Linked DNA regions of Homo sapiens: regions 2, 3, 4, 5 and 6 are each linked to region 1. The links are contacts of gene promoters, found by promoter capture Hi-C in blood cells and fetal thymus (Javierre and others, 2016). All regions are on one chromosome and are shown on one strand. Each heading gives the region's core, a stretch centred on a gene start or on the middle of the fragment in contact. The rest is flanking DNA. Distances are from core to core; before and after follow the strand shown.

The links. Contacts are between HindIII fragments. The CHiCAGO score rates a contact against its expected background, and 5 or more counts as called.
Region 2: a contact is called between a fragment that was not itself captured here and the fragment with the promoter of MYOT in region 1, in 1 of 17 cell types (total CD4 T cells). The highest score is 6.1, in total CD4 T cells.
Region 3: a contact is called between a fragment that was not itself captured here and the fragment with the promoter of MYOT in region 1, in 1 of 17 cell types (total CD4 T cells). The highest score is 5.2, in total CD4 T cells.
Region 4: a fragment that was not itself captured here is called in contact with the fragment with the promoter of MYOT in region 1 in 2 of 17 cell types (M2 macrophages and M1 macrophages); the score reaches 5.5 in M2 macrophages.
Region 5: a contact is called between a fragment that was not itself captured here and the fragment with the promoter of MYOT in region 1, in 1 of 17 cell types (naive B cells). The highest score is 6.0, in naive B cells.
Region 6: a contact is called between a fragment that was not itself captured here and the fragment with the promoter of MYOT in region 1, in 1 of 17 cell types (naive B cells). The highest score is 5.2, in naive B cells.

The regions. Positions count from the first base shown.
Region 1 is chr5:137,865,683-137,869,818 of GRCh38, reverse strand. It overlaps MYOT (myotilin), which reads right to left and starts at 1,959. Exons shown (of 10, transcript NM_006790.3): 1 at 1,866-1,959. All of the region lies in intron 2 of PKD2L2-DT (PKD2L2 divergent transcript), which reads left to right. The HindIII fragment of the contact is 5,979 bases long and covers 1-3,066 here.
Region 2 is chr5:137,619,286-137,623,421 of GRCh38, reverse strand. KLHL3 (kelch like family member 3) reads left to right here. Exons shown (of 15, transcript NM_017415.3): 15 at 1,296-4,136. The coding sequence ends at 1,324. Among named protein-coding and RNA genes, the nearest start is that of MIR874, 26 kb to the left of the region's middle. RefSeq lists an enhancer at 454-503. The HindIII fragment of the contact is 4,842 bases long and covers 12-4,136 here.
Region 3 is chr5:137,639,545-137,643,680 of GRCh38, reverse strand. KLHL3 (kelch like family member 3) reads left to right here. Exons shown (of 15, transcript NM_017415.3): 9 at 3,704-3,821. Among named protein-coding and RNA genes, the nearest start is that of MIR874, 6.0 kb to the left of the region's middle. The HindIII fragment of the contact is 6,724 bases long and covers 1-4,136 here.
Region 4 is chr5:137,665,924-137,670,059 of GRCh38, reverse strand. The region is part of intron 6 of KLHL3 (kelch like family member 3); the gene reads left to right. Among named protein-coding and RNA genes, the nearest start is that of MIR874, 20 kb to the right of the region's middle. The HindIII fragment of the contact is 2,176 bases long and covers 1,405-3,580 here.
Region 5 is chr5:138,046,570-138,050,705 of GRCh38, reverse strand. It overlaps a transcript of FAM13B not described here. Among named protein-coding and RNA genes, the nearest start is that of FAM13B, 16 kb to the right of the region's middle. The HindIII fragment of the contact is 2,700 bases long and covers 932-3,631 here.
Region 6 is chr5:138,018,499-138,022,634 of GRCh38, reverse strand. FAM13B (family with sequence similarity 13 member B) reads left to right here. Exons shown (of 24, transcript NM_001385994.1): 2 at 1,438-1,604; 3 at 3,489-3,680; 4 at 4,121-4,136. The coding sequence starts at 3,524. Among named protein-coding and RNA genes, the nearest start is that of FAM13B-AS1, 12 kb to the left of the region's middle. The HindIII fragment of the contact is 2,121 bases long and covers 1,035-3,155 here.

The sequences.
Region 1 (4,136 bases), core at 710-3,209:
CAGAATCATACCTTATAATTCTGTTATTTTTAGATTATACTTCCTAGTTGTTGGTCTTGATGTTCTTTTAATTATCTAGAGTTTTACTTTTTATTATTTGTTTAGTATGTATTTTAGACTAATTTTGTTTTTTGGTCTTTTTTTTCTTTTTTTTGCCACACCTTTGGAGATCTCAGACTAATTTTGAAATTGCTTTAGCTCTTTTACTTTTTCTTTTCAAATGGCAAACAGGAAGCATAGAAGTAAATAAGACACATATGAAACTAGTCTATACCTTACCAAGAAAAGACAGGTGCCATTCCTCCTACTTAGCTCTGTAGTGGGCCTCCTGCCTTCCTACAGTACATCCTCATTTTTTCTCAGATGAAACATTTGCCATGAAAATCAACCTTGAAGGATTATATTTGTCTCTGATTTTTTTTCCATTAGTATGGTAAACCTAAGCGGGACTATATATAGACATTACACACAAAGACTAGTCCTATAAATTGTTTTCACACTAATCCTGTTTTCATTGAAAATATCAGATAAATTGATTCAAAATACATTTGCCTATTTTGTTTCATCTGGTATAAGCCAATACTGAGATAATGACAAATCAAACTTTTAACTGAAAAATTAACCAAATTGTTTGTCATCATTGAAACGAAGTCTTCTAATTATTTTAGTTACTGTCTTGGATAAAATGTTAATAAAACTTTTCCAGACCAAAGAGTTTCATCCTAAATAATAGGATACCTTCAAAAAATAGTATTTCAAAGTTGCCTATGTAGTTTAGAGTTAAATTAAAACTAGCAATTTTAGGAAAAAACAGAAATGCAACTAAACAGCCAAGAGAAAGACGCTATTGAGAAAGAATACTTAAAAAGTTAAATATTCCTTAATTTCAAGTTTATGAACACAAATACATTAAACTAGAATGCATTTTAGAAATGAACTACTTTAGGCATTTAAATTGTTGGGGAAAAACATCCTGAAGGAGGGCCTTGAGTAGATCTAAAAAAAAAGTCTATTTCAAGGCAAGTAGTTTTGTAGTTATCGGTTTATTCAGTCTGTTGCAGAATTGAATCCAGAGTTTGATTCCTAAATTTCTTTCTGGGCAGGTACATTATTGAGACTCATTTCAGATAGCAAGGAATAAACCGCTTATGAAATAGTAGATATTTTCCAGAAACAGTTCTCTTTTTTTCTTTACATATATTTTCAGAATGGCAACTGTCTTGTACATGTTGATATTGGCCTACATTGTTAATAATTAGTGATATTTTTAAAAGCCCAATTAAAAATATGTTATTTCATAAGTTTCATTTTATCCATGTGTCAAAATTTTATGCAGACATTTACGCAGGTGATCCTGTATTTTCTTTATGTTTGTAGTTACTGTTCAACAATTTAATTCTATAATAGATTCTGTTATATGACAGGGTCATTTTATTCCAAATAATGTTAAATGAATTTCAAAGATTTTTATAAATAAAGTACTATTCAGTCTCCTTTTTAAAAAATCTTAACATTTTTTTCCTGTCTCTAATATAGCATAGACTTGCACAGAAGACTGATAGAGGATATGTTGCGTTCATAAGACATCACCACAATTACATCAGATCAAGTGTCCCTTTTCAAGGAAAAATGGTGATTTAAAAATAATGACACACAGCTATCTTTCCTTCTATCATTTGTATAATGCCTTCCAGTCTCAATGAAATGAATGAGTCGCTTTCTCTTTAAATTTTTGTGTAATACCATTATAATGTTGTGGCTTTCAAACTTTTTATCTGAAAATCATCTTTGTATACACTCATCTGATTTGGACAAAAAACAAAAACAAGACCTAAAAGTGTAGTAGGAATAAAGAAGGGACTTACCCGTAGTTCCAGAGGGTGCCAGCTGGGTTTAACCCACTATTGAAGGGAAGGAAGAGGCATCTCCTTCCCTCACAGACTAATCTAGTGGCTCTGTGCTTAGTATTATAGCACCACTGACTTTTATCAGCTGCCAAACAGTGACATCTGATGTGCTTGCCTGTCCATCTACCTATGCTGGCATGTCAAAGTAAGAGTCCACAATCTAAACAATATCTCACGTGTCTTAGTGGTATTTAAGGAGTGGGATTACATGAGCTTCTTTTGCAAGCCTCTTTATTTCAGACGTGAATTTTGACTATGAACTTTAGCAAGCTCATGTGAGGGAAGGGCAGTGAATAGGGAAATGGGAAAAATAGAAAAAAAACCCTCTTATTTCTTTATTATGGTGGGGACTTTGAATTTTCCCAGTTTAAGAGAGAGGACTAAAGGGAAAATAATATTTCAAGAGTGGAGTTCTTCTATCTATTATACTAAGACTTCTCCAGGAATAAGACCAGTGATAGATGGGCTCCCAATTGATTTGTATTGCATAATTCTTCATCTGAAGTCTTTTTTCTTTTGCCTAATGAGAGTAGGATTCAATAATAGATTTGAGGTCTCTCAGTACTAGCAGTTTGTTCCGAGGTGGAGGGCAGTCTGGGCAAAGCAGGAGACCGAGGTCATAGTGACATGTCACTGGGAAGGTAGGGAGGTGGAAAAACATGATGGTGTTTCTTGAGCAAGTTTTCTGAATCTGTATGGCATATGCCCCTTTTGCCTAGTACTTTTATTCTGAAAGAGTTTTGAAACACTTAAGAAACAACCAAACAAATAAGCAATCTATATAATTAGAGCTGTCAATGCATGTTCATCTCCCTTTATTCCTAACAGTTAGTTTCCTTTCACTTTTTGTCACAGAGACCATCATGGTATTTAGATTTCCATTTTTGTGCAGGGAAGTAAATAATTGCAGAAGAATAAAATGTCGAATCAGCAAATGTGGTGAAGTAGGGTAGGTGGCATGAGGATTGGGCCAAGGGAGTAGAATTATCTCCATGGGGTGGCTTCAGTTCCCCTCCCTCATGGGTAGATACCCCAATCTTGATTGAATTAACATGTATATTAGAATCCAGCAAATAGATGTTTGAGCACATATGAGCCATATAAAATCCTTCACAGCTGGCCAAGTAGGTGTACCTTTCTTTGGTGTTCAAAGAAAGCTTGATAATTTCTGCCTGGGCGTGCAGCCCTTAGTAGAAAAAGCATGCTAGACTTGGTGAGTAGGTGGTTGCCTACAAAGTCTTATTTCAGGAGTCTCCCAAAATATTCTTCAACATCTGTTCACTGATATTTCAAATTCCAGTAATACAGACAAAACCTTTCCATCTAAATTAGAGAGACTTAAAATACAAATGCAAGTGATAGGATAAAAGTAATAATAGCCAATATATAGCATTTATTATGAGTAAGACACTCCTTCAAGCATTTTATTTTATTATTAGTTTTTTTTTAGAGACAGGGTCTTACTCTGTCACCCAGGCTGGAGTGCAGTGATATGATCAGAACTCACTGCAGCCTCAAACTCCTGGGCTCAAGAGATCCTTCCTCTGCAGACTTTCAAGTAGCTAGGGCTATAGGCATGCAGCACTATACCCAGCTAATTTTAAAATTTTTTGGACAGACAGAGTTTCGCTATGTTGCCCAAGCTGGTCTCAAACTCCTTGCCTCAAGCGATCCTCCACGTCGGCTTCTCAAAGCACTGGAATTATAGGCATAAACCACATGCCCAGCCTATCTATTCTAAGCAATTTTAAATGTGGTATATGTGACTGACATTTGGTTCTGCTGGAGAACAGGGTTTGATTAGGGCATGGAAAAGGAAATAATAGATTTGAGGTCTCTCTGCACTAAAAGTTTGAGGTATACCTCACCAGCCAAGTAGGGAAGACATCCAGGACAACCTGCTAAATTCCCAATTTTGCCTACAGCAGGTTCTAAGCATACTACACTCGAGGAAGAATTTAGTTCTGCTTACTCTTTGTCTTTCAAGCTTTGCCTCTTCTCTAGGTCTTTGTAAGATACAACCCAGGTTACCGTGTGTTACATGTGATAGCCTTCATGGTACGTCAAGGCTAAAGTTTTTGCTATAATGGGATCAAGGGATGATTTAGGAAAGGTAAGTAGGTCCTCTTTTATGATACCATTCTCAGTAGTCAGGGGCTATATTAATAATCTACTGTAAATCTGTTTGTTCCTGCCTTTTAATGTTTGATTTGCTTTTTTGAATGGTGG
Region 2 (4,136 bases), core at 1,183-3,682, 250 kb after region 1:
GCCTTGAAGCTTCTGTGTCTGCACCTTTAGCCAGGAATAAACAGGAAATAGATGTCTTAGCAGAATATCTCCAGTGGGGTATCCTGGCTTGATTTTAGCCATGTTCTCTCAATCTCATCTTCAATCAGAACATTTCATAGTTGTGGGACTATGTTAAAATAAGGCTGCAGTAATATCCTGCCTGTAAACACCTGTAAGTTAGGATTTCATTTAGCAACAGGCACCAGAAACCCTGACAGATACTTTCCTAAATAAGGAAGTGAGTGTATTTGTCTCAAGTAGAAAGAAATCCAAGGTTGGCCTGGGGGCTCAGACTGACAGAACCAGGTTTCTCTTCTCTTTTCTATTCTGCCAGCTTTATCAAGGGCTGCTGCCTCCCCTTGGCCTTGCGTGAGCATTCCAGTCACAACAAGAACAAAGCCAGCGTTGCAACACTGGCACACTTGCCTTTACAGTCTTAGTGGCCAGCACTGGGTCACGTGGCACATCTAGCTGCCAGGCAGTCTGGGAACCTGAGCTTGCAACTTGCTGGTGGCTGTAGTCGAGGATAGCAAGTAGGAAGGATGTTGACGGAATCAACCTGTAATATCTGCCATGTAGCCTCAGTCCCTTACAGTGAGATTTTGGGTCATGCGTGGATTTATAGTTAGGTGCTGAGCATGGTTCACTCGGACTAAAACAGTAACATAGCATACATGTCTGGAGCATTTATCAAAGTCGAGATTGTCACACTGGCAGGGTCTCTTAGATGACATTTGTGTGGGAACTGAGCCTAAAGAGGTCAAAGAACTTGCCAAAGGCCATAGTGCAGGTTGACTGGTGGCAGAGCTAGGAATGGAATTCAGTCTTTCTTGCTCCCATGAAGGCAGCCTGCTGTACTTTCCGCTTCATTCCAGTGTCTTCTAAAAGTAGAGATGAATCACCCATTGCTTCTCTTACAGTGATTCAAATTTAGAACTGCATAGCTGCCCCTGGGCGCTGAGCATTGTTGGGCTGGGTGCTAGGGCTGGGGATGGGAGTCACCACAGTGAGTCCATGTGATGACACAGGGTGAGGCCACTAGTCAGTGGTGTTTGAGGGACTGTGCTCGTAGGTTCAAGTGTCTTGCCAGGACTTGGCTGTTGGAGTGGGGAACAGCCAGCTGCTAGCAGCCTGAGTCCACTTCAATATTAGGATAAAAATTGCACACATTTCCCTTGGCTGTGACTCAGGATATCTTGGATTCATGAACTCACTGGGACTCTGAGTAATTTTGGAGAAGCTAAGATGATAACTTTCTCCCCCTTTCTTATTAGGTGTTGCCGTGATTCACAAGTCCTTGTGACCCAAACTCCTACTGCCAGGAGGTGGAGGAAGGAGCAGGTGCTGCCTGTGACTCTGAACAGCAGGACCTTGGTGACTGGATTCAACTTGCTTGGGAGGGTCTGTGCTGCTGTGAGAACCGCTCTCCTCTGACTTGGCAGACTGGTGTTGTTCATCGCAGTGTGGACACCATTACCCACCCCCGTTCCCCTGAGGTGCTCTGGCCTATGCCCTGAGCAAGGGGGGTCTTGACATCCCCAGGCAGCACCTTTGGGCTTTGTTTTGGTGTTTCTACAGGGACAATACAGACCCTGGAGTGTGTGTGTGTGTGTGTGTGTGTGTAGACCATGGTGTTTCTCTATGTTTCTCTAAGTTGGGGGGTGAGCGTGTGTGACAGTCTACTGGATTTCTTTACTACTGATCCTTTCGCTGTGTTAAAAATCAAGTCACAGAGACCTCTCTTCTGGATTTGTCCCATGGGGACCCTGAGACTACTAAAGCTGCTTTCTTCTGAAGGTCCAGTTGGACAGTCTGGGAATGTCCAGAAATAACCAGTGAGAGGGGCAGTTCTCTGGCCACACCCACTTATGTACTTTAACTACTGTGACTTTGTCTGCAGAAGAGCTGGAAAATTCTCGAAGCTGCACCGTGTCCTCTGTGTGCTAGAATAAGGGACAAATGGGTTCCCTGTGCTTCTCAGCTCACTGTTTTTCCTTGAGTTCTCCTACAGGAAGCAGATGAGAACTGCCCAGTCTTCAGGTTTAGGCCATTGGTCTTTGATGTCATAGATTCCAGGCCTGGGAGGTGTTATGTCTCTTCAGCTGGGAAAACTAGCTCTTCAGAGAAGCCTCGGGTAACACTGAAAAACAAAACAAAACAAAACAAAAACAGGAAAAAAACAAAAAACCAAAGTGGTAAGGATTCAGTTCCTGCCTATAATGGTCTCAGAGAGGGTCCTACTTTTAGGTTTTCCCAGGACAGGACAGTCCCCATTTATACTTATTATCCCAGTTTAATTATTCACAGCACCCCATTTTACTCAGAAGTGTTCTGGTCTGGAGGATAAATAAGAGGTCACCCTCCTCCAGACCCAAAGATAGATTTGTGCCTGTGTTGGATGGGGTCGTGTGTGATTCAGATGGACATTGGATGGCTTCAAAGGAATATACCACTAGAGCTGGCCCTTGGCACTTTGTGACAGTGGTCAAGTCTGTCTAATGTCCTTGTCTTCTTTTTCTTGTGCTTTCCCCCTATTCCAGGGTGTGCACCCTCTCCCCAACCCCCAAGAACCCCACTACTGCTTTCCCTGTGAGGTAGGAGATATCAGTGGGCCTTGGATTTGAGGCTTCCTAAGATGTGCTTGCATTTTAAAAAGGGAGCTTGGTGAGAGCTTTGCTAATTCACAGGTAAAAATTATTAACAATAGAACTTCAAGCATCTTGAGGAGCGGGCATTTGAGGGGGCATGGAGTAATTTGTATTTAAAAAACCTTAAAGTTGTGCTGTTCCTAAACTAGCAAATTGCTCATGCTGAAATTTCTGGCATAAGCAGGGGAAGTCTTGTGTCTGGAGAATAGTCTCATACCTTGCAGTCTGGGACACCCTCCCTACTTTGAGAATCCACCTACAGGAAGCCAAGGAACTTTATAAATCCTGATGTTGGACTTCTGATACGACTGGGCTACTTCCAAGCAGGTGCTGCAGGAGATTGGCATCCCCCAGCCCCTGCAGTTAGAAACCCCGAAGTCTTCCCAGCCAGTGAGCCACTTTGTGTATTTACTGTATATTTATTGTGCCCTAAATGTGCAACTCTCCTAAAGACAAAACTTCTCTTTCTGATGTTAAGCACATGTTACTTCAACAAGATGCTTGGAGAACAACAAGGTACCCAGAATTTTTAGAAGCCTTCAGAAGAGGCTAAAATATCCAGCTTTGGGGGACCTGGAAGAAATGTCTCCAAAGGAAGCAAGGCATGTTTTAGTTGAGTGCTCTGGTCTCACTATGAAGTGGGGATGACTGTGGCTTCATAACTCTACCTGGCTGTGGGTTGGAAGCTGATGGAATGAGAAATGTCCTTTCTCCTTCTCTGAGGAAATTTTGAGACTTGTTTCGGTGTGTCTGTGTGATGGGGATGAGGCTGGGGTTGGGATCTGATGTATGCCATTCACAGAAGCTCTCAATTTCAGATGATAGGTGAATTCCCTGCCCCTCCCCCACCACTGAGAAGCTAGACTTTCATGCGGGAGAGGCTACTTTTATGTGTCGTCTTCCGGGGAAGGGTCCCTCCACTGAAAGCTAGCCAGTCATGTTTTCTGTTTTTGGATTTTTGCAATTGGTTTCACCTCATGTCTCCCTCCCTACAAAGCACTGCCTCTACTGGGCGTGCTGCCAAGGCCATGTGCACTCCATCCTCATGTATCCTTTTTCACGGGGACCAGAACACTGGTACGTCATCACCAAAGCCAATCTGCTCTAGCTGCCCACAGATGCCACCAAAACCTGCTATCTCTTCATCACCAGGTACGATTCTCTTTCCACAGTGGACACAGCAGGCTATTTTCTAGTTTGTGCTGGTCACGTGGTAGATGAAGCCTCTTACTGCCCCACTTAGGGTGGCCACGGCTGCTTGTGAATGCAGCTTTGCCAGTGGCATATCTGTCATCTGATTGCGGTGGTGAAATGGAATTGAGGCCCAAGGTTAGAAGCAGCCGAGACGCCACTTGGATACTGATTTGAACAATGTAGAAGTCAGATTCTGAATTCCAAAGTTATTTCTCATAAGTACCCAATGGCATCTCTCCATCTACAAAGTTGCAGTATTATGCAAATAAAACT
Region 3 (4,136 bases), core at 564-3,063, 230 kb after region 1:
TTGATCATCACCCAATGTATGCATGTATCCAAACATCACACTGTACCCCATAAATATGTGTACCTATTATGTGCCAACTAAAAATAAAACAAAAAAATTGAGTTTCCTATGCCTATGAGAGAAGCAGATGTATACCTGCTCTTCCTGCTGCCTTGAGCTACCTCTGAAACTGATGGTCCTATCCCACAAAACCTCATAATTCATTTTCCCAGATAGTTGTACAAGTTTTGTTTGTTTAAAGTTATCTCTTACCAGTGGTTTTATGAGCTCAAAGCCAAGTTTGTTTTGAAAACCTTATCTTGTATTCTATTTTTTTTTTTTTTTTTGAGACAGGGTCTCACTCTGTTGCCCAGACTGGAGTGCAGTGGTGCTGCAATCACAACTCACTGCAGCCTCAAATTCCTGGGCTCAGGTGATTCTGCCACCTCAGCCTTCCAAGTAGCTGGGACTACAGGCATTCACCACCACACCCAGCTAGTTTTTTGTATTTTTTGTAGAGACGGGGTTTCACCATGTTGCCCAGGCTGGTCTTGAGCTCCTGGACTCAAGAGATCCACCCGCCTCTGCCACCTAAAGTACTGGGATTACAGGCATGAGCCACTGCACCTAGCTGTCGTGTATCATTTTTGTATTTCTACTCAGGCTTTACTTTAACATTAAAAAATTTGCATTTCTGTAATACTGTTTCTGTGAAAATTCTCAGAGATGAGTGGTAGATTTTCTCCAATATGCATGTACCCTCTACTTCCCTGGTGGGAGATAGTTTCTGGGGCATGGTGAGGGTTCCTGAAAACTTTGCCTTTTTTTTTTTTTAATTTACAAAAGAAGCTGGATAGCTTATGCCAAGTATAAGCAAACTTTCTTTTGGTGGTTGAGTCAAAAGATGGGAAAAGCTCTCACTTTCTCTTTTTATTTTGCTTGCTTTTTCCTCACTGTCTCCAGAATTTTAACCTGGTGTTCCAACATATTTTAACTAAAGAAAATGACGTTCTAGTTTAGTTTCTTTTTTCATTTTTAAAAACTCTGTATTGTTTGTTTAACTCCTTGCATGTGCTATTTACTTTTTATTCATGTATTCTTTATTCCAAATAAACACTTGAGCCCTCACTTTTACCTGGCAACATAAGTATATGGAGTTATCTTGGTGACTGAGGCAGATACGTTTTCTGCCTGGGCAGGGCTCACTGTCTAGAGGTGCAAAAGACAAGACACTGATGGTCCAGCACAATGCAGAACACACAGGGCAGGTGAAATCTCAGAGGACGGATATGTAGTTCTGACCTGGAGGCCAGGGAAGTCCATTTGTAGGAAATAACATTTAAACTGAGACCTGAAAGATAAGCAGGTGTTAAGGCAGAGTGCTCAGAGATGGGAAGGTTTCGAGTCAGGGAACAGCATGTGGGAGGGTGTGGGGTGCCTGAAGTCCTTGCAGAAAGAAAACTTAAAACTGCTTTTATTCTCACTCAGCTTCAGAAATCAGATTTCAAAGAAAATCCTTGCAGTATTTTCCTTCAGTTTAGCTTTACCAACTCAAAACCGGAAAGACAATGCAAGTTCTGGGCATATTTACGAACATGTCATTCTGCCCTTGAAGAGTAGGTTAGGCATTATCTGGTGTTTGCCAAGGGGCTGTGTTCATTAACATCCCCCTTGAACTGTTCATGGATGCCTGTCTAAGCAAAGAATTACAAATGGGAAGTAATGTAGAATTCATGTTTACTCTGAAAAAGGCTACTCTTGACACAGAGCAGTGGACCCTCTGAGCTGAGGCACCCAGGAAAGTCAAGTTTCTGTCTGGAAGCAGCAGCAGCAGCAGCTCGAGGCTGGGTTTTGTGTCCTGGGTTCCTTTGGAATGCTTTAGAAGTCAGAACTGATTTCTGAATTTTTGAACACTGGTTACCCACTTTTGGTGACAGACAGCTATGGACTAAGTCTGATGACCAGTGACCACCCACATGGCAGTGGGTGAGCCTGTTCTGGAATATTGGGGAATAAATGGTTGATCTGTAGTAATGGTGGTGAGCTCTGGTTTTGCCTCCCGTATGGTGGGAAGTGTTCACTTGAGGGATGTGCCTTTGCGAGTTCACACAGATTTTGATGGGCACTTCTCTCCCCAAAAATACATCATGGGGAAGTAAAAAGCACTATGATAATTCATAATGGCAAAAGTTGTTCATGGCATATCATCAGGAAATCCATACAGAGCATGGATTAAAAAGGTGGTTCTCAAAGTATGAACCCTAGAGTGGCAGCAGCAGCAGCACCTGGGAACTTGTTAGAAAGGCAGCCTCTGGGCTCCACTCCAGATCCACTGAATCACACTCTGGGGATAGGGCCCAGCAGCTTGTGTTTTCACAAGTCCTCTAGGTGATTCTGATGTATGCTCAAGTTTGAGAACCACTGGGTAAATAAGACAAGCTACAGGTAATGATCAAATGAATTTGCTGGTTGTGACTTCCACCCTTTCTCTCCACTCAAGAAAGCATATTGGAATGCCGTTGAGTGAGAGTGACATCATTGTGGGGACAGCTATGAATTTGTACATGTTTATTAAAATATGTAAACTATAGGTAACTGGTACTTTAATTTTTTATTTATTAATAACATGTGACCAAAGACACAGCAGTGATACCATAATTAAGTACTGCAGTTCTATTAACCTAACCAGAGCAGTAGTTTTCATTGTGTTTGACCATGCCCTTGCAATACAAAATGCATTTAAATTGCTATCCAGAAGACACATGTAAGTGTGTATAGCCAAAACCAATATTTCATGAAATAATATTCTTATCATATTTTCTGTGCTTTTAAAAATATATGTGCTGGTCATAATCCATTAAATTGATTTCATGACCTACTAATGGAAAGCGACCTGTGTTTTGACAAACATAGATGCAGCAAGCTGTGTTTGCTTGGATCCTGTCTCTAGAGCAGGAGTTGGGGGGGGTGGCTGGCCTCACCCTCTGTCAGGTAGACTTGGGTTTCAGTCTCTGCCTACACTCTTAGCTGTGTGACCTTGGGCCACTTACATGTGTTCTCTGAGCTTTACTTTGCTATCTGTCAATGTGGATGATGATATCTACCTCACAGTTGTGGTGACAAGTAAATGACAACACATTTCACATGGTACCTAGCAGTGGTAGCTACTACCTTACTTGTGGAAATAGGACTGCTAGCACTAGTTTCCAGAACATCATCAGTTTAATAACTTTTGTAATAAACATCTCACAGGAGTTTTTCAATTTTTTTCTATACTGCAGTGCATAAGTGCACCCTACATTCTAGGCATTCAGAAATGCTTTTGAGTAATACTTTAAAACATACGTCCAAATTCTGAACTCTTTTTCAAAGTATATTCAAGTTTGTTTTGATATAAGATTTAGCACCCCCCATTCCCAATCTGAGGGCACTGAGATTACAGATGATGCCCTGTGCGGCTTCACATACCCACAAGATAGCCCCGAGTGGGGCATTTGGGAAACAGAACTTATGACTGTGTTTCTGTGGGAAGATGCTTGTTAGACTTTTCTTGAATACTCATACCTGTTGGTGACCAGGAGCAGCATCCCCATGTATGTAGCTCTGTAAACTGGCATCTCAGATCATCCACACACCCTGGGCGATAAGCCATGTGGAAGTACCAGGGATACCATAAATCCAGATTTTGGGGTGACCCCGCTAACGTCCACTTGTCTCTCCGGAGGTCATGATTGTGGTTGGCGGCCAGGCACCCAAGGCAATCCGCAGTGTGGAGTGCTATGATTTCGAGGAGGACCGGTGGGATCAGATTGCTGAGCTTCCTTCCAGAAGATGCAGAGCAGGTGAGCAGCCTCCCAGTTCTGCAAGCTGTTTTTCCCCTGCTGGTCCCCACTCCGTGCCAGAAGTCGTGAGCTACTCCTTGTTTCCTCAAGCATCTGTGCATTTCAGGCTCCCATTCGTTTCCCTCCTGCACACTTTTTTTTTTTTTTTGGTTGTTGTCGTTGTTTTAAGACAGAGTCTTTCTCTGTCACCCAGGTTGGAGTGCAGTGTCATGATCTCGGCTCACTGCAACGTCTGCCTCCTGGGTTCAAGTGATTCTCTCACCTCAGCCTTCCAAGTAGCTGGGATTACAGGCGTGCACCACCATGCCCAGCTAA
Region 4 (4,136 bases), core at 1,243-3,742, 200 kb after region 1:
CAGGAGATGGCGAGCTTCCTTCCCCTTACTCATAGCACATGGGCAGAGTTCATCTAGTCTTAGTTTTACAGCTGGGGCAAATCTGTCCACAGGAGCCTGTGGCCTAGGCACCCTACCCAATGGGACACCAGTCCTCAATTAAAGCCCATATCTGAATTGTCTCTGTGAGCCATTTTGGCTTCAATTTCCACTCAGCTGCCCGGATTGAATTCCTTCTTATTTAAAACACTCAGGCATTTTCTTCTTGCTTTTGCGTATGGCTCAAATCTTTATTTTTTCTGTAATACATCATGCTCACGTGTTTGGAGCTACAGGGAAAGATTCCTTCCAGAGCAGCTCAGTCTACCATATTGACTGGCAGACATTCTCCATCCGTATGTCATCCTGCACTCATGGTTAGGATTAGTACCACTGACGTCTCTCAGCTTGTAGACGTTTCTATCAAACCATTGTGCTTCAGTCCTTTTCTTATTCTTTGTGGACTCATAGTGAAAGTCTTTTTTACTGGCTGTAGGTAGTAATAGAAAGCTGAAGAACAATTTCCAGGCCAAGTGATGTTACCGTTTTAATTTTTTCATCATTTTTGGTTATCTGAAGTCAGATATCTGGCAGTGTGCTGCTGTAGGAAGAGAACCATACATACATTCATTCATGCTTTTATTAATTTATTCATCCTATTAAGAAATATTTCTCTGTGTGGCAGGTAGCGTATTAGTCACAGGAGAGACATTGGCAAACAGATCAAAACAAGATACCTGCCTTTGCAGAACTTATATTCACATAGAGGAGAGATATTTTATCAAATATATGCACAAATATATAGCTATAAAATGAGAGATGTGGTATGAATGAAATGTGCAGTGTGCTGTGAAAGTGTGGATTGAAATCAGTGGTTCTAATTGCTGTCTTCTCACTAATTTGTTGGGTAATGTCAGGCAAATGACTTCGTCTCTCTCTGCCTTACTTTCTCCTTTTGCAAATGACTAGCAGTTTCACAGGGTCCTTGTGAATCTGAAATGAAGCAACTACAAGAAAGAGCTTTTAAGTGTTGTGTGAAATGGTGATGGTATGGTCAGAAAGAAGAATTCAACTGGGTAGGTTTCTAGGGAGACTTCAGACCAGGACATCGCTCAGCCAGTGGTGTGCTGGTAAATGTTTAACAACTGGCTCGCTAAAAAACATTCTAAAAGCCCTGATTCATCTGTTGATTCATTTGCTGATTTCCATGGTGTAAATATTTTCATCAAGGCTGACTTCAACTACCAGTGTAATGTCACTAAACGTGGAGTTAGGAAGAGACGTGCACAGTGAGCTCCAATTGCCGCACACCACTGCTCCCAGTTGTCCCTGGAGTTGTGTGTGGCAATGAGGTGAGAGTATGCTTAACACAAGTCTTGTTAAGCTTTCATTTAAGAAACAAAAACAGGAATCCAACAGAATCATTCTTTTGTCTAGAAGCACTATCTTCTTGATTTAAAAGCATGGCAGGAGATTTGGTAAATGGTATTGCCTCAATCCCTGGGAAAGGAATAGGAGACCTAGGGGAGGTGTCCCAGGAGGGCGTGGAGGATTGTAATTAGGATTATAGGTTTAGGAAGTTAGTTCCCCAACTCAACAGTCTGCCCAGGGTTTTTTTTGTTTGTTTGTTTTGAGACAGAGTCTCTCTCTGTCACCAGGCTGGAGTGCAGCGGTGCAATCTCGGCTCACTGCAACGTCCGCCTCCTGGGTTCAAGCGATTTTCCTGCCTCAGCCTTCTGAGTAGCTGGGGACCACAGGTGTGCGCCACCACGCCCAGCTAATTTTTGTGTTTTTAGTAGAGATGGAGTTTCGCTGTGTTGGCCAGGATGGTCTCAATCTCTTGACTTCGTGATCCGCCCACCTTGGCCTCCTCGGCCTCCCACAGTACTGGGATTACAGGTGTGAGCCACCTTGCCTGGCCTAGGTTTTTAAAATTAATTGTGTCTCTGAGATGCAAATTGCATAATGTTTGAGCATGGGTTTTTGGAGTTAGAGGTGAATTCACATCAGATCTATTCTTCCTGGCAGTGTGACCTTGTACAGCTTGCTAACCTCTCTCAGGCTGTTTCCTCATCTGTAAAATGTGAGCAGTGACACCTACTTCACAGAGATTGTTGGTGGATTAAATGAGATCATATGTGTAAAATGCCTAGCACTGTGCTTGTTGTTATTAATAAAGTTAGTCCTTCTCAGATTGAGTAACAATTCAGGTCCATGTATAGGAACCTAGTTTTTTTTCCCTGATATTGTCAAAATTAGCGTCTTTCTCTTCTTCCTATGTTTTGCTGAGAATTGCTCCCAATTGAACTTCTCCCCTTGCCAAGTCAGTGCCCTGCCTTTTTAACTGGAGTGCTTCTTGATCTTCAAAACACATTTTGAAAGCAGGGAAAGTACCCCAGGACTCCTCATTTTCCTTGGGGTGTGCAAGTCCAGCCTAGCTTGGCTGCCTGTCTGTCCAGAGTGTTGGAGTGGAAGGTCTGGATTCATCTGGTATTCTCTGGCCAAGACCTGTGCTTACATCTGAAGTGTGGTGAGCTGGGAGCTATGGAATCTGATTTTCTCCAACTCCTTTCCACTTGACAGTCTTGTAGCATGCAAGAAATTGGTTCTAGGACATTAATCAGTGAGGAAATGGGGCTATTTCTTTGTTTAAAAAGTGAAACCCTAAGTGTACCTATGAGCAGCTGATTATTTCATCACAAAAAGTAGTAGCTAAGTAGATATCACCCTATCCTATGATTGAATCTATAGTCTCTGCTTAGATTTTATAGACCAGGGGTTGACAAACTTTTTCTAGGAAGGGCCAGATAGTAAATATTTTAGGCTTTATGTTGTCGTGGCTTCTCAACTCTGCTACTGTAATGTGAAAGCAGCCATAGACAATATGTAAACGATGAGTGTGGCTGCCTTCCAACATAATTTTATTTACCAAAACAGGTGGCAGGCTGGATTTGGCCTGTGGGCAGCAGTTTGCAACCCCCCTGCTATTAGACCTATTAGACATTTGAGAGTCAGCTAAGAATAATGGATTTAGAGCATAAGCACTGAAGTTGGTTTTGTATGTAACCAAGCAGAGCTGGCTCTGCTTCTTTTTAGTTCTGGGACTTGGGCAAGTCATTTAATAAGGCTTAAGAGTATTTAATCATTGGGTTATCTTGAGAATTTGGGGAGGCGATGTTTATGGAGAGTCCCTTGGTGGGAAGGGTTATTGGGAACCATTTTGGGTACATTGAAAGCTAAAGCAAGTTGGAAGTTTATTTGCTTGTTTATTTTTCAAGCATGAAGTCTGAATGAAAAAAATATGTGGCCTTCTCTAGCTGCTGAGAAGGTCACTGTTGTTGCCGAATGCTGTGGCTTTCATAGCTGAGTAGATAAACAGTGTGACTAAGTGGAACTAGTTACACAAGTGAAGCCAAAAATAAAGATAAGGTTAAATATCGACTTTGGTAGATTCAGCTTGCTTTTTTGTTTTTATAACAAAAATTAAGCTGGTTGATGGGGAAGAATGTGATCAATAAATGCTACCCGCTTAAGGACTTGTAGTTCATTCTTCAGCTAAGCTTTGCCAATCAGTTACCTTGTGTTGTGCTAGGCAGCATTGGGAGATGGCGTGCAGAGACAGAGCTGGTACACTTCTCACTCTGCATAGGCTCACAGTCTATAAAGGGAAGTAGAAAGAGGTGTGGCTAACCAACCACATACAAGGCAGAATGGGGTTGTGGCTGCCCATCACCTAACCTGGCAAAGGCAGACTATCTGCCTTTGACTCTGCCTTACCCACTAAGATTCCAACCCCTTGTTCCCCAGCCCTGCTCTCTGCTCCAGCCTGGGCAGCTTCCACACATCTCCTTCCATGCTTATTCTGAACTCATTTTCCATTCATTCACTTAAAAAATATTTGAGTTTGTGTTATGTGCCAGCAAATAAGACAAGGTCTCTCATGGATCTTAAGGGCTAGTGGAAGAAACATAGTCGTTCAAACAATGCTGTGAGGATGAGGGACATAGCTCGATAAGAGTTCCTAATAAAAAATGAACTAGACAGGGATTTCTATGGTGTATGTGCTTATGTTTGTACACATATAGGTTATTTGATATAGAAATAGGAGCAAACTATAC
Region 5 (4,136 bases), core at 1,032-3,531, 180 kb before region 1:
GTGACCCCTTCTGAAGACAGTAGACAGTATGGGAGAGGTTAACAGGTGTTTCTGTAGTCTTGTCCTATCCAAGGTCCTCTATTTTAAAAAAAGAAAGGTCTTGGGCTTCTTTGGAAGAGGCAAGGCAATCTCTGAGTTGTAGTATCTCCGAGTCCAAGATGGTGGGGCTGGCATAGAACCTTCCAAGTTCTTTCTGCCTCTTTGCTTCCTTTCAGGTTGGCATGTCAGATGTTTTGTCTGTTTGTTTGTTTGTTTGTTTGTTTGTTTTGAGACGGAGTTTCATTCTTGTTGCCTAGGCTGGAGTGCAGTGGCCCAATCTCAGCTTGCTGCAACCTCCGCCTCCCGGGTTCAAGGGATTCTCTTGCCTCAGCCTCCCAAGTAGCTGGGATTACAGGCGTGCATCACCACGCCTGGCCAATTTTTTATTTTTAGTAGGGACAGGGTTTCTCCATGTTGGTCAGGCTGGTCTTGAACTCCCCATCTCAGGTGATCTGCCTGCCTCGGCCTCTCAAAGTGCTAGGATTACAGGCATGAGCCACCATGCCTGGCCCTCTTTTTATTTGTTTTGAGGCAGGGTCTCCACTCTGTCACTCAGGCTGGAGTACAGTTGAGTGATCATAGCTTACTGTAGCCTTGAACTTGTGGACTCAAGCGATCCCCTCACCTAAGCCTCCCAAGAAGCTGGGACTATGGGCACATACCACCACACCGGGCTAATGTTTAAATTTATTTTATTTTATTTTGTAGAGAAAAGGGCTCACTTTGTTGCCCAGGTTGGTCTCTAACTCCTAGTCTCAGGCAATCCTTCCACTTCAGCCTCCCAAAGTGCTGAGATAACAGACATGAGCCACTGTGCCTGGCCAAACATGTCGGATTTTATTAGATATTCTGGATCCCTAATAATGAAATTTTTCTTTAGGTTTTGGAAGCTTTCTTGGGTTATAAGTGCCCACAAACTTTTTGTAGTTTGCACATTTAGCTCCCAGCACTGTGGACAATATCCGAGTGAGAAAACAGACAGAACTACTTATTGAAGATAGGAATGGAGGCTGACAGATGGAAAATCCTGTTTTGCTTGGTAACTTACTCCAAATGAAAAGAGGTTTCATGGAGTTAAGAAATGTATCACTCTAGGCCGGGCACGGTGGCTCACGCCTGTCATCCCAGCACTTTGGGAGGAAGAGGTGGGTGGATCATCTGAGGTCAGCAGTTCAAGACCAGCCTGACCAACAGGGTGAAACCCCACCTCTACTAAAAAAAAAAAATTAGTAGGGCGTGGTAGCACACGCCTGTAGTCCCAGCTACTCAGGAGGCTGAGGCAGGAGAATCGCTTGAACCCGGGAGGCAGAGGTTGTAGTGAGCCGAGATCACGCCATTGTATTCCAGCCTGGGCAACAACAGCGCAAAACTCTATCTTGAGGAAAAAACAAAAACAAAAACAAAACAAGAAATGTATCACTCTGAAGCCAGGCACAGTGGCTCACGCCTGTAATCCCAGCACTTTGGGAGGCCCAGGCAGGCAGATTGCTTAAGGCCAGGAGTTCGAGACCAGCCTGGCCAATGTGGTAAAATCCCGTCTCTACTAAAAATACAAAAATTAGCTGGGCGCGGTGGCGCACGCCTGTAACTCCAGCTAGTCGGGTGGCTGAGGCACGAGAATCACTTGAACCTGGGAGGAGGAGGTTGCAGTGAGCCAAGATCTCACCACTGCACTCCAGCCTGAGCAAAGGAGTGACTTCGCCTTAAAAAAAAAAAAAAAAAAAAAGAAATGTATCACTCTAATGTCCTTCAGAATTCTCTGATTTTTAGATTGTAGTCAGAAGGAGACTGACATTGAGGTAGTGGCAAAGGTCTGCATGGGGTACAATGATGCTATATTTCATCACATTGCTGAATACTTTTAAAAATATTGTGAATATATGAGAAAGAGCATGTAATGCATATATACAATTTGCAAAATAATTATGAAAAACAAACCCTATATACCTTCTACTTGGCTTGAGAATTAGAATGTTACAAAAGCTCTGAAGGTCCTAGGGGTCGGCCAGCATGCTGGTACAATTTGGCCACTGCAAAAAGGTGCCTTACCAAGGGGAGAGGGATTTGCCTCCTAAAAAATGGAGCTTTTTCCTTGGGTACAAAGACACCACCTGGTGCTAGGCTGAGGGTCCATAGGCTGGTTCCTACCCAGTGGATATGTCATTTTTCTAATTATCTGCTCAGAAAACAATTCTTTTTTCTAGTTCACATAGAGGCCTCTTATAGGCTAGTGTACTGTGTCCTAGGGGTGCGGGGTCACACCTATAAGTTCTGTACCCTCCACTATAAGTAACAATTATATTGAATTTTGGATTATTATTTTTCTTTAGTGTTTTACCATGTATATATGCATCTCTAAATTACCTACCTCTCTTTCCCTGTACTCCAAAGTGCCATTTGGCGTTGTATTAGTGTTTTGTTTTGTTTTTAATTGCTATAACAAATTACCACAAACTTAGTGGCTCAAACACACAGATTTGTATGTGTGGGGCAGTGGGTATATGGGAAATCGTACTTTCTGCTTTATTTTTCTGTAAACCTAAAACTGCTCTAGAGTTTTGTTTTTTGTTTTTTTGGATTTCTTTCTTTCTTTTTTCTTTCTTTCTATTTTAAAAGGCATTAGGTACTAGCATTAGGGGAAACTTGGAACTCTCTGTACTATCTTTTGCAACTTTTCTGTAAACCTAAAGTTATTCTAAAATAAAAAGGTTATTTAAAATTTTTTAAAAACACAATACAAATGTATTATTTTATAGTTCTGTAGGTCAGCAGTCTGACGTGGGTCTCACTGGGCTAAAGTCAGGCCCCTAGAGGAATATCTAGGGGTCTATAGGAAAGAATCTGTTTGCTTGCCTTTCCTAGCTTCTAGAGGTGGTCCACATTCCCTGGTTCATGGCCTCCATTCACTTTCAAAGCCAGCAATGGCAGATTGAGTTATTCTCATACCCAGTCACTCCAGTGTCTTCTGCCTTCCTCTTCCATTTATAAAGGCCTGTGTGATTACATTGGGCCCACCCAGATAATCCGGGATAATTTCCCCATCTCTGGGTCAGTTGAGCAACTTTAATTCTGCCTATAACCTTTATTCCCATTTGTTATGTGCCGTAACATATTCACAGGTTCTAGGGAATAGAATGTGGACATCTTCATTTTTTTTTTTTTGAGATGGAGTCTTGCTCTGTCACCAGGCTGGAGTGCAGTGGTGTGATCTCGGCTCACTGCAACCTCTGCCTCCTGGGTTCAAGCAATTCTCCTGCCTCAGCCTCCTGAGTAGCTGGGACTACAGGCGTGTGCTACCACGCCCTACTAATTTTTTTTTTTTTTAGTAGAGGTGGGGTTTCACCCTGTTAGTCAGGATTGTCTTGATATCCCGACCTCATGATCCACCCGCCTCGGCCTCCCAAAGTGCTGAGATTACAGGTATGAGCCACCGCGCCCGGTCTGAATGTGGACATCTTTGGGACATCATTATTCTGCCTACACTAGCCATCTTTATGTAGTACTTTGCCACATGCTTGTTCTGCCCCCCAACTAAAAATGATTGTTCTTTTGTTTCTTCTCTACAGATAGCTCACTCCATATCTGTCAAGCTTGAGTTGCTTTCTGAGTAAGTGAAAAGAAGTGGCTGGGCACGGTGGCTCACGCCTGTAATCCCAGCCCTTTGGGAGGCCGAGGCAGGTGGATCATAAGGTCAGGAGTTCAAGACCAGCCTGGCCAAGATGGTGAAACCCCGTCTCTACTAAAAATACAAAAATTAGCTGGGCGTGGTGGTGGGTGCCTGTAATCCCAGCTACTCGGGAGGCTGAGGCAGAGAATTCCTTGAACCCGGGAGGCAGAGATTGCAGTGAGCTGAGATTGTGCCACTGTACTCCAGCCTGGGTGACAGAGTGGGACTCCATTTCAAAAAAAAGAAAAGAAAAAAAGAAAAGAAGAAATACCCTTATTCTGATATAGTAATAATGTCTCATAATAGTATTAAACTACTGAATTAAATGTATTTTCTGGACATTAATTCAGCATTTATCAATAGCTCCAAATTGAGTTTCAGGAGCAAACTAAGGCCAGAGACTACCACTTACACTTCCTGTTGTTTCCAA
Region 6 (4,136 bases), core at 846-3,345, 150 kb before region 1:
AACTTCGAAATTGTTTTCAAATGGATAGATAGGTAGATTAACTACATGTCTTAGCAGGCATTTCAGGATGTTTTGCAACTAATAATCAACTAAAAGATTTGTTATGGGAATGTGGTTTTCCTTCCCTTCAGTTTTTAATGTTTCTCCTGGAGGTGTATGTTACTAATAACACTTCTTTGAAAACCACACTGATTAATATTACTCTTCTGCTTACCTGAAGCTTCTTGGGCAGAGTCCTGCAGTGTAGTTTACTGAGCTTATTAAAAGATTTGTTAATAGATGACTAGAATTCACAGAGGATAATGATACCATTAGAATTCACAAAGGATGATGAGACCAAATATTAAACACTTTGCCAAACAAGTTCTTCTCTCTCTCTCTAGTCTAATTGCTGGTCTTTTAGCATTATGCAAAGAAGAGAGAGGAGACTGGTTCTCTATCTACTGCATACCTATGTTATCTCAGTTAAACTAAACTTAACAGCTGTACAGGTATTATTCTTTTTTTTTTTTTTTTTTTTTTGAGACAGGATCTCACTTTGTTGCCCGGGCTGGAGTGCAGTGGTGCAAACACAACCCATTGCAGCCTCCACCTCCTGGCAGAAGTGATCCTCCTGCCTCAGCCTTCCAAGTAGCTGGGACTACAGGCACTACTATACCTGGCTAATTTCTAAATTTTTTTGTAGAGATGGGGTCTCACTATATTGCCCAGGCTGGTCTCAAACTCCTGGGCTCAAGTGATCCTCCCACCTTGGCCTCTCATAGTGCTGGGATTATAGCCATGAGCCAATGCACCTGGCCTGTACAGGTAGTTTCTTGTTTTATATAAAGAAACCTAGGCTCAGAGACATGGAAGTTGTTCACCATCATGTGTCTACAAAATGACGGAGTTATTAATTGAATCTAAATCTTTCTGGGACTGTTCTTTTTGCTCTTTTCCAACATATGCTATCGCTTCTCTAAATTAGGGAGCTCAGGCAACCACTATGTTGTATACAAAAAAAAGAAGAAAGTACTTAAGTATAGTAGCAAGCTTAAATCATATCTTTGATTCTTTGATCTTTTGAAAATACTTCCATGTTTAGTTCTGAGTATGTGAGGAAATGAGGAAGGAATGGGATGGGGTAGGGTGTCCACACATAATTGAGGAAAATGGATTATTTGAATGGTGTAGTCCTTGAAGATGTGTCCTGTCACATATCCTCCTTTGCAATTCGTTTATTTATTTATCTTCAGCAGGAAGATTCTTCTCCAATTTTCCATCATCATCTGAAACCGTTGCAAGGTTTTGCCTTTAGGTTACAGATAGATTTTTCAGACAGAAGAATACCTTTCAATATAGGTAACCTCTTAAGAGGACTGTACTGCTGCTTCTATTAATAGTCTCTTCTGACAGTTAAAGATGTGGGAAATTGAAATAATTGTTTTTGTCTTGTAGATTAACTGCTGAAGTACTGATCGAGTTCTGCATTTCTTCAATGAGGAACTACAGGCTGATCTTCTGCCATAATCTCAAACAGCCATAAATGACAAAAGAATGCTTGCTCAGTGAGGGTAGCTGGTGCAGAAGCCATTTTTTAAACTTAGGTATTTAAGTACTGAAAGGTAAGTTTTCAAAATGGTAACTATCTCGTGCTCTATAAATCCATAGAGATTTTGGAACTTGCCCCTGTAGCTGCTATTTGATTTAACTTGAGGTTTTATAGTTCTTAGCTGGCACCAGATACATTGAAGAATGGATGTTGCTTGTCTGAGACTATGTAAATGTATGGCATTTTGCTATCCTTAAGTTAATTTTTTCTTTTAAGTTGGCTGCATTGTTTCCTAGTCATGTTGTGACATTCTTGATCCAGTGGGTATACACTTGATCCAGTGGACCTTATTTTTGTAAACTTAGGAATTTTAGTAGACTTATTTTTGTGATTTGCTTTTTTTCTCTTGCAGTGAGAAAGAAATTGTTTTTCTAGGGTGATGGAAAAAATACCAGCTGGTGTCATTTTGTTCATTATCAACCTTTGAGTTTTTCTTTCTTTTACAAATACTCTTTTCCTACGTAAAGTAATAAATGTGTAATGTGTTTATTTTAGAAAATAAATTTTTCTTAGGATTACTTGTTCTCTGATGTGTCAGATATTGGAAATGGCCATCTGAGACATTGTTTTCTCCCACTTCTTTACTGATCACAATTCCTACAAAATTAGGACAAATAACTATTTCTTCTGAACTAGATGGCTCTGAAAATTTTTCTTTTGGATAATTATGAAATAACAGTGTTAAGGACAGGCACAACGGCTTGTGCCTATAATCCCAGCGCTTTGGAGGCTGAGGCTGGCTGATCACATGAGGTCAGGAGTTCAAGACCAGCCTGGCCAACATGGTGAAACCCCGTCTCTACTAAAAATACAAAATTAGCCGGGCGTGGTGGCGCACACCTGTAATCCCAGCTACATGGGAGGCTGAGGCAGGAGAACCGCCTGAACCCAGGCGGTGAATGTTGCAGTGAGCCAAGATTGCACCATTGCACTCCAGCCTGGGCAAAAAGAGCGAAACTCTGTCTCAAAAAATAAAAAGAAATAACAGTGTTGATAAAAGGACATCTCTTATTGAAAGTTGATGTCCAGAAATGAAAAATTTCTTTTTTATAAAAATGTATTACAGGCCGGGTGCGGTGGCTAACGCCTGTAATCCCAGCACTTTGGGGGCCGAGACGGGCAGATCACGAGGTCAGGAGATGGAGACCATCCTGGCTAACACGGTGAAACCCCATCTCTACTAAAAATACAAAAAAATTAGCCGGGCGTGGTGGCAGGCACCTGTAGTCCCAGCTACTTGGGAGGCTGAGGCAGGAGAATGGCATGAACCTAGGAGGCAGAGCTTGCAGTGAGCCGAGATCATGCCACTGCACTGCAGCCTGGGCAACAGAGCGAGACTCCGTCTCAAAAAAAAAAAAAAATTTATTACAGCTGCTTTATCATGTAGAAATAAGAACTCATTAATCTTGTTCTTATTAGCCCATCATTTATAAAAAGTGGTTATTAGATCTGCACTTTCTAAAAAGGATTCTCTCCTGTTTGGGCTTATGAATTGAGGGGTTAGATGAGCTTTATATGGCACAGTCCAGAACGGGTTTGGATTTACCTGTGTCATTAATAAGCTTGTTCAGTAAAGGTTTTCTTGGAGCCAAATTTGCTCCTTAATTTGTCTTTGGGACATTAATGCCTCTTGCTAAATCTTTGATGATTAACTTTGCTATTGTTTGATAAGTATGCAAACACTAAAGGGAGCATTCAGCACTAACTCTTCGTAATAGGGAATATGTTTAGGTAATTGTACTGAACTTCATCTGTAGAACACACTATGGGCCTGCTAACTGGAACATTTAAATAGATGAGAACACATTCAGGTGTAAAGCATTTTTCTTTAATGTATCTAGTCATATTGCCACCTGTTAATCATTATAGTCTTTTTTTTTTGTCTTTCATTTGGCAGAAAAGACAGCTTTGATTTCTGGCTGCAAAAAAGATATGAGGAAGAGCTCCTCCCCTTCCTTGAGTAACTGCAACTCCGTTCTTGCTAACAAAATATTTGGAATTCCACTTGATGAGCTGCAGCAGGGAGGACATCCAGACAATGAGGTTCCATTCATAGTCCGCCACGTTGTGGACTATATTGAGGAACATGGTATACATTTCCTTACTTTGAGGGCTAGCTTTTGTTTTAATAAACACAACTTACACCTTTTTGACCTTGGATTTTTAATTTTTTTTTTTAATATGGAAAGTCCAAAACATAGGAAAAACTAGAAATTCTTTTTAATGTTTTAGTGTGATTTTTACTTAAATTCATATACTTAGAAATGACAGTTGCCCAGCCTAGAACAAGTTTTAGTGGGGGTGATAGGAATATTTTTAATGGATATAAGGGGTGGGATAAAATAGAATATCCCTTAGAACAGAGATAGTATGTTTCTAGATGTATAATTTGAAGGTTTTTAGACAAGTCAGGGGAGCCAAGAAAGGCTTTCCAAAAGTATGAGTATTTTAAGTTAATTGGAGAATGAATATATATGGTCAAGCAGTTGACATTGCAGCTTATTGAATGATTGCCTTGAACTAACGTAGGAGGTCTGGAGCAACA